Regions from separate parts of the Homo sapiens genome. Here region 2 is linked to region 1. The links are contacts of gene promoters, found by promoter capture Hi-C in human tissues and cell types (Jung and others, 2019). All regions are on one chromosome and are shown on one strand. Each heading gives the region's core, a stretch centred on a gene start or on the middle of the fragment in contact. The rest is flanking DNA. Distances are from core to core; before and after follow the strand shown. Region 1 overlaps TYW1 (tRNA-yW synthesizing protein 1 homolog). Region 2 holds the start of GUSB (glucuronidase beta).

What was found. Contacts are between HindIII fragments. The study calls those that stand out against the background at their distance.
Region 2: a contact is called between the fragment with the promoter of GUSB here and a fragment that was not itself captured in region 1, in 1 of the 25 tissues and cell types used here (hippocampus).

The regions. Positions count from the first base shown.
Region 1 is chr7:67,007,744-67,011,552 of GRCh38, forward strand. TYW1 (tRNA-yW synthesizing protein 1 homolog) reads left to right here. Exons shown (of 16, transcript NM_018264.4): 4 at 1,840-1,941. Among named protein-coding and RNA genes, the nearest start is that of TYW1, 13 kb to the left of the region's middle. The HindIII fragment of the contact is 7,836 bases long and covers 1-3,809 here.
Region 2 is chr7:65,980,662-65,984,470 of GRCh38, forward strand. It overlaps GUSB (glucuronidase beta), which reads right to left and starts at 1,552. Exons shown (of 12, transcript NM_000181.4): 1 at 1,313-1,552. The coding sequence starts at 1,522. RefSeq lists enhancers at 1-141, 1,598-1,727. The HindIII fragment of the contact is 22,673 bases long and covers 1-3,809 here.

The sequences.
Region 1 (3,809 bases), core at 720-3,219:
CCTCCCTCAGCCTCCCAAGTAGCTGGGATTACAGGTGCCCACCACCACTCCTGGCTAATTTTTGTATTTTTAGTAGAGATGGGGTTTCACCATGTTGGTCTGGCTGGTCTTGAACTCCTGACCTCAGGTGATCTGTCCGCCTCGGCTTCCCAAAGTGTTGGGATTACAGGTGTGAGCCACCACGCCTGGCCAACCTGTCCTTTTTCTATACCAGTTCTCATGCTTACTATTGGGAGTTATCATTAGCCCACAAGACTGCCCCCACTTCAGACACCAGTCACAAGTCCCGGCTTTAAATTTAGGGTTCTGCACCACTGCCTCCTCAGGTTCTATAGGATGACTCACAGACCTCAGGAAGTTGCTTGACTTATGTTTAGTGGTTTATCATAAAGGATGCAACTCAGGAACGGCCGAATGGAAGAGCTGCACAGGGCCAGCTATGGAGGGGTGGGGGTTGAGCAGGGCTTCCAGGCCGTTTCTGGCCGTGTCTTCTCCCCAGCACATTGGTATGTTCACCAAGTCAACAGTCTCCATTGTTCAGGGGTTTTTCTTGGAGGCTCCATTACATAGGCACGATTGATTAAATCATTGGCCTTGGTGATTAAACTCAATCTCCAGCCCCTCTTCTCTCCCTAGTGTTCCCTGTTGGGGCTGGGGTAGGAGGTGCTGAGTTTAACTTCTCATCAGTTTCTCTGGCAACGAGCCTCCATCCTGAAGCTATCTGAGGCCTCACTCCAGTAAGCCATCTCATTAGCGTACAAAAGATATTCATTCCATCTTTTGTTGTAGTGGCTGCTCCCAGCCTAGAGCTTCTCTGGGGTTCTGTTAGCCCTGTGAACTCTTCCCTAGGACTTTTTCCTGTCTGTCAACCGGCTTCTTTTCATGTTTCCCATTCTTTTCACTCTTCACTCTTTCTTTTATTTTATTTATTTATTTATTTTGGAGATGGAGTTTTGTTGCCCAGACTGGAGTGCAATGGTGCAATCTTGGCTCACTGCAACCTCCGCCTCCTGGATTCAAGTGATTCTCCTGCCTCAGCCTCCCGGGTAGCTGGGATTATAGGTGTGTGCCACCACGCTTGGCTAATTTTGTATTTTTAGTAGAGACGGGGTTTTACCATGTTGGTCAGGCTGGTCTCGCATTCCTGACCTCAAGTGATCCAACTGCATCGGCCTCCCAAGGTACTGGGATTACAGGTGTGAGCCACTGTGCCCAGCCCATTCTTCACTATTTCTTTTTGCACTTCTCTGTGTTTATTGTTTTTTAATATGTTATTTTCTTTATGAGACAGGATCTGAGTCTGTGGCCCAGGCTAGAGTGCATTGGTGTGATCGTAGCTCACTGTATCCTCTAACCCCTGGGCTCGGGGGATCTTCCCGTCTCAGCCTCTTGAGTAGCTGGGACTATAGGTGTGTGCCATCACACCTGGCTAATTTTTAAATTTTTTTATAACGATGAGGTCTCACTTTGTTGTCCAGGCTTGGCCTCAAGTGATCCTCCCACCTCAGCCTCCCAAAGTGCTGGGATTATAGGCATAAGCCATCTTGCCTGGCTGATATGTTTACTCTAGTAGGGCAAGGCAGATTGATCATCCAAAGCCAAATTAGATTCAGTCCTATGTAAACCCTGATCGGGTGAGAACAACACAAATGAATGATCTCTGTAATGGTGCCCAAGAAAATGGTAAGAGTGAGGATAGAATTTGTGTTCATGAAGATACATATCAGTCACTGAAAATATTTTTCATGAGGAATGCCACATTCTTGTGCCAACAGGGGTAATGAGGGTTATATTTGGCTCATTGAAGACTTTATTTGATGTTTTTTTTGGTCCTATTAGGGATTCGCAACAGTTCTTGCTGAAGCAGTTACATCCCTGGATCTGCCTGTGGCCATTATTAATCTAAAAGAATATGATCCAGATGATCATCTGATAGAAGAGGTTGGTAATTGTCTTTTTCTTCAGTCAAAACTCTCAAATTTAACTGATCTGCAATCTTCACAGTAAATTTAATTAGATAACTAGAATCTTCAGAATAAATTTAATTTTCGTGCTAAGGGATTTCAGTTAGTTGAATTCCAGTGTGAATCAGAGAATTGAATGTGGGGTAAGGTTCACTGATTCTCACGTGGTGTGGGGCTTGTTCTTCAGGCATGTTAAATTCTCCTGGGGCAGGGCTAGAGGTGAGAAAGCTTGGGTGGTTGGAAGTTCACTCCTTCCCACAATTTTCTTTTTTCTTTTCTTTTTTTTTTTTTTTGAGATGGAGTCTCACTATGTCACCCAGGCTGGAGTGCAGTGGTGCAATCTCAGTTCAGTGCAATGTCCGTCTCCAGGTTCAAGTGATTCTCCTGCCTCAGCCTCCCAAGTAGCTGGGATTTACAGGCATGCACCACCATGCCCAGCTAATTTTTTTTGTGTGTGTCTGTGTTTTTTGCTAGAGATGAGGTTTCACCATGTTGGCCAGGCTGGTCTGAAACTCCTGGCCTCAAGTGATCTGCCCGCCTTGGCCTCCCAAAGTGCTGGGATTACAGGCATGGGCCACTGTGCCTGGCCCCTACTATTTTTATTTTTTTAAAATTTATTTTATAGAGACAGGCTCTCACTCTCTCACCCAGGCTCTGGAGTACAGTGGTGCAATTTCAACCTCCCGGGCTCAAGTGATCCTCCTTCCTCAGCCTCCTAAAGTAGCTGAGACTACAGGCATGTGCTGCCATGCCCTGCTAATTTTAAAAGATTTTTTTTTTTTTTTTGACATGGAGTCTCGCTCTGTCACCCAGGCTGGAGTGTAGTGGCGCGATCTCAGCTCACTGCAAGCTCCGCCTCCCGGGTTCACGCCATTCTCCTGCCTCAGCCTCCCGAGTAGGTGGGACTACAGGCGCCCGCCGCCACACCCGACAAATTTTTTGTATTTTTAGTAGAGATGGGGTTTCACCGTGTTCGCCAGGATGGTCTCAATCTCCTGACCTTGTGATCCGCCTGCCTCGGCCTCCCAAAGTGCTAGGATTACAGACGTGAGTCACCGCGCCTGGCCAAAAGATTTTTTATAGAGATACGGTCTCACTATATTGCCCAGGTGGGTCTCGAACTCCTGGCCTCAGTCTCCCAAAGTACTAGGATTATAGATATGCCCAGCCCTCCCCGCTATTTTGAATCTCTTAATTAAGGAAGGGTTGTTATTGATGGCAGTGTGCTATACTTGTAGACCATGGGCAATCCAACCAAAAGGTCAAAAGCAGAGAGTATGGGTTTCGGAATCAGAGAAATCTCTTATTAGCTGTGTGACCTCAATGCATTAGTTAATGTCTTTTTTTTTAATGGAGTTTCGCTCTTGTTGCCCAGGCTGGAGTGCAGTGGTATGATCTTGGCTCACTGCAACCTCCAACTCCAGGGTTCAAGTGATTCTCCTACCTCAGCCTCCTGAGTAGCTGGGATTACAGGTGCCCACCACCATGCCTGGCTAATTTTTGTATTTTTAGTAGAGATGGGGTTTCACTGTGTTGGCCAGGCTGGTGTTGAACTCCTGACATCAGGTGATTTATTTGCCTCGGCCTCCCATAGTGCTGGGTTCACAGGCATGAGCCACTGCGCCCAGGCGCATTACTTAATATCTATGAGGGTTTAATTTCTTCATCTGAAAAGTGTTCCTCCCCTTTTTTCTCCAGTCATGCCCAGTTAGGGGATTTCACCCTACAGCAGTGGTTCTCAAGTGTGGCCCCTGAGCCAGCAGCATCAGCATCTCCTGTGAACTTGCTAGAAATGCAGAATCTCAGGTCTTAGCCTAGCTGCATCGTAGAGCTTAAACAGTGCTC
Region 2 (3,809 bases), core at 302-2,801, 1.0 Mb before region 1:
CACATCCCAGCCAGAGGCAAGAAGGTTCAGACCTGTGACTAAGAGGCAGATGGCCACTGCCTGTCACAGGGAGGAAGGCTGGTTGGAGGAATGGGGGGAGCTTTGCTTAGGACACTGTGAGTGGGGTGCACACTGGCACCCAGCCCCCTCCTCTTTCCCTCCTGTACTGAATGCTGCAAAGTCAGAATAAGAGGATGTAGACCAGGCAAAAGCCGCCCAGACCTCACCCAGTTCCACTTCTCTGCAGATCACATCCAAGTCAGGAGGGGAACAGGGGTGGCGTCCTGGGCCTGATGTCATGTCCTGTCCTCTATGTGAACCTTGAAAACCAAGGGACTTCCTGCCTCGGCAGAGCTGACCTCAGGACATCTAAACTGTCACCTTCTCCCGATCCCCGGGCCCAGCTCTGTGCAGTGCATGCCGCTGTGGCCAGAGTGTGTGGGTGGCTCATGCCAGTAATCAGCGCTTTGGGAGGTCAACGTGGGAGGATGGCTTGAGGCCAGGAGTTCGAGACCACCCTGGGTAAATAGTGACACCCTGTATCTTTTTTTTTTTTTTAAGTTTTTTTGCCTTTTTTTTTTTTTTGGAGACGTAGTCTCACTATGTCGCCCAAGTTGGAGTGCAGTGGCATCCTGATCTCAGCTCACTGCAACCTCTACTCCCGGGTTCAAGCAATTCTCCTGACTCAGCCTCCCAAGTAGCTGGGATTACAGGCATGAACCACCACACTTGGCTAATTTTTATATTTTTAGTAGAGATGAGGTTTCACCCTGTTATGTTGGCCAGCCTGGTCTCAAACTCCTGGCCTCAGGCGATTCGCCCGCCTCCACCTCCCAAAGTGCTGGGATTACAGGTGTGAGCCACCGAGCCCAGATAATTTTTTTTTTTTCAATTAGCCAGGCGTGTTGGCACCCCCTAAATTGCAAGGCTGGGGCGGGAGAATCGCTTGAGCTCAGAAGTTAGGCTGGCGCCACTCCGCCCCAGCCTGGGAAACAGGTGCAAACCCAGTCTCAAAAAAATTTTTAAAAATTAAAAATAAATATTGAAAGGAAGGATACTGCACAGACTCAGCCTTTACCTCGGGAAAGGGCTCGGCAAGAGCCTTTTCTCCTCCTGCCTAATCCGCCCCGGCCCTCCAGGGTGCTCCTGTTCCCCCGTCCCCCAAGCCGGCGCCCCCAAGCCCGTTGACCTTTAACCTCCTGCGGGCCCCAGCTCGGAGACGCCCAGGGGAAGAAGTCTGCGGGGGGCCCGGGCTCCCCTACTCCCACCGCCGGGCTTTCGGGCGCCTCCCGGCCCTGCCCCGAGATCGCACCTCCCACAGCGGCCGCCGGTACCACTGCTCCTCGAAGCCCCGGCGTCGGTTGTCAGAGAAGTCGGCGCGGAAGCTCCAGAGGCCGTCCAGCTCCTTGCACTCCCGCGACGGGCTCTCCTGGGGGTACAGCATCCCGCCCTGCAGCCCCAGCGCGCAGCCCCACAACAACGGCCCGAGCGCCGCCCAGGCAACCGCCGACCCCCGGGCCATGCTTCCCGGTCCCCCGCTCGGCCACCGTCTGCGGCGCTAAGAAAAGCGCGGGAGGTGCCCGTAGGGCGGGTCGCGTGACGCGCCGGTGTCGTGATGCGCCTGAAGCCATCCGCGCCATCTTGGTTGAGGACGAGTGCCAGGCCTGGAGGGGCGGGGCCGGGCGCTGCCCGGTAGGGCTTGTGGCTGGAACCCCAGGCTAGGCCTTTGGGGAAACGGGACCCTCACCCTCAGCCCCAGCCGATAAGGGCGAGGTCTGCTCCCCACCCCGACCCAGGCTGGACGATCCAGGGCCGCAGGCCAGAACAGAACCCCTGAGATCGGTGGGATCCCCCTGTTTCTTCAAGGAGCACCTCCACTTGCTTTTCCCAGCAGGAATTCAAGGAGGCCCCAGCGGCGCCTCTTCCATGCCTGTCTGATGCAGCCTCTTGCAGGGATGCACGTCCTTGGGATGCGGCCATAGCCTTGACCCTGGGCTTCTGGAGCCCTGACCTTAACCCAGGGGCCAAGAGCTCCCTCTTGGTGTTGCAGGCACATAAAGATGCAGGGAGAGAGGCCAGGTGCACTTTGGGAACCCGAGGGGGGCAGATCACTTGAGGCCAGGAGTTCGAGACCAGCCTGGCCAACGATAGTGAAACCCCGTCCCTATTTTGTAAACATACAAAAAAAAAAAAAAGAATTAGCGGGGCGTGATGGTGCGTGCCTGTAATCCCAGCTACTCAGGAAGCTGAGGTAGGAGAATCGCTTGAACCCGGGAGGCAAAGGCTGCAGTAAGCCGAGATCGCACCACTGCACTCCAGCCTGGGCAACAGAGCGAGACTCTGTCTCAAAAAAAAAAAAAAAATTGCAGGGAAAGGGTGCCCTGCGGGACCCCAGTTTACTCCAGTAGGGAAGGCACCGTGTGGGAGAGGTAGAGGAGGAGATCTGGAGACAGCAAAGGAGACATAGATTTATGGAGGGGACTTTCATACAGGGACGGTGCAGTGGCCATTGCTGGACATGAGAACCACTACCATTTGTAAAAAGCATGCAGCTTACATAACATTTTCAACTAGCATCCTCGACCTGTTACTGGTGGAGTTCCGGGTGGTGAATCCCTACACATCAGCAACAACCTCAATTCTTGCCTCCTCAGAAGAAAGAATTGCACTGAGGGGCATAAGGCAGAAAGCCAGAGGGAGGTAAGCTGCAGAGCAGTAGTAAAAGCTTGTTAAAAAGCAGGCCAGTGCTGAGCGTAGTGGCTCACACCTGTAATCCCAGCACTTTGGGAGGCGGAGGTGGGGGGATCACGAGGTCAGGGGTTTGAGACCAGCCTGGCCAATATGATGAAACCCCATCTCTACTAAAAAATTAGCTGGGCATGGTGGCATGCGCCCGTAGTCCCAGCTACTCGGGAGGCTGAGGCAGGAGAATCGATTGAACGCGGGAGGCAGAGGTTGCAGTCAGCCGAGATCGCACCACAGCACTACAGCCTGGCGAGAGAGCAAGACTCAGTCTAAAAAAAAAAGCAGGCCAGGCACAGAGGTTCAGGCCTGTAACTCCAAACTCCAGCACTTTGGGAGGCCAAGGCGGGAGGATCACTTGATATCAGGAGTTTGAGACCAACCTGGCCAACGTGGAGAAACCCCATCTCTACTAAAAATACAAAAATTAGCCAGGCGTGGTGGCAGGCACCTGTAATCCCTACTATTTGGGAGGCTGAGGCAGGAGAAATGCTTTAACCCAGGAGGCAGAGGTTGCAGTGAGCTGAGATCACGCCACCGCACTCCAGCCTGGGCTACAGAGTGAGATGCCATTTCAGGAAAAAAAAAAATATTAAAAAACTTTAGAACAGGAAGGAAAGAAGGAAAGTACAACTTGGAAGAGGGCCAAGTGGGTGATCTAAGAAACCAAGTGCCTTGGCCAGGTGCGGTGGCTCACGCCTGTCATCCCAGCACTTTGGGAGGCTGAAGCAGGCAGATCACCTGAGGTTGGGAGTTCGAGACCAGCCTGACCAATATGGAGAAACCGCATCTCCATATTTAGCTGGGCATGGTGGCACATGTCTGTAATCCCAGCTACTCGGGAAGGCTGAGGTGAGAGAATCGCCTGAACCAGAGATTGCAGTGAGCCGAGATCACGCCATTGTACTCCAGCCTGGGCAACAAGAGTGAAACTCCTACAAAAAAAAAGAAAAAGGAAAACAAGTGCCCAGCTTGACCTCTTGACTCAGGGTTTCATAGATTGGCATCCTTCCAGGATCTTGCCACTCCTGATTCCTTAGCTGGGGCTCTGAACATACATTCTTAGA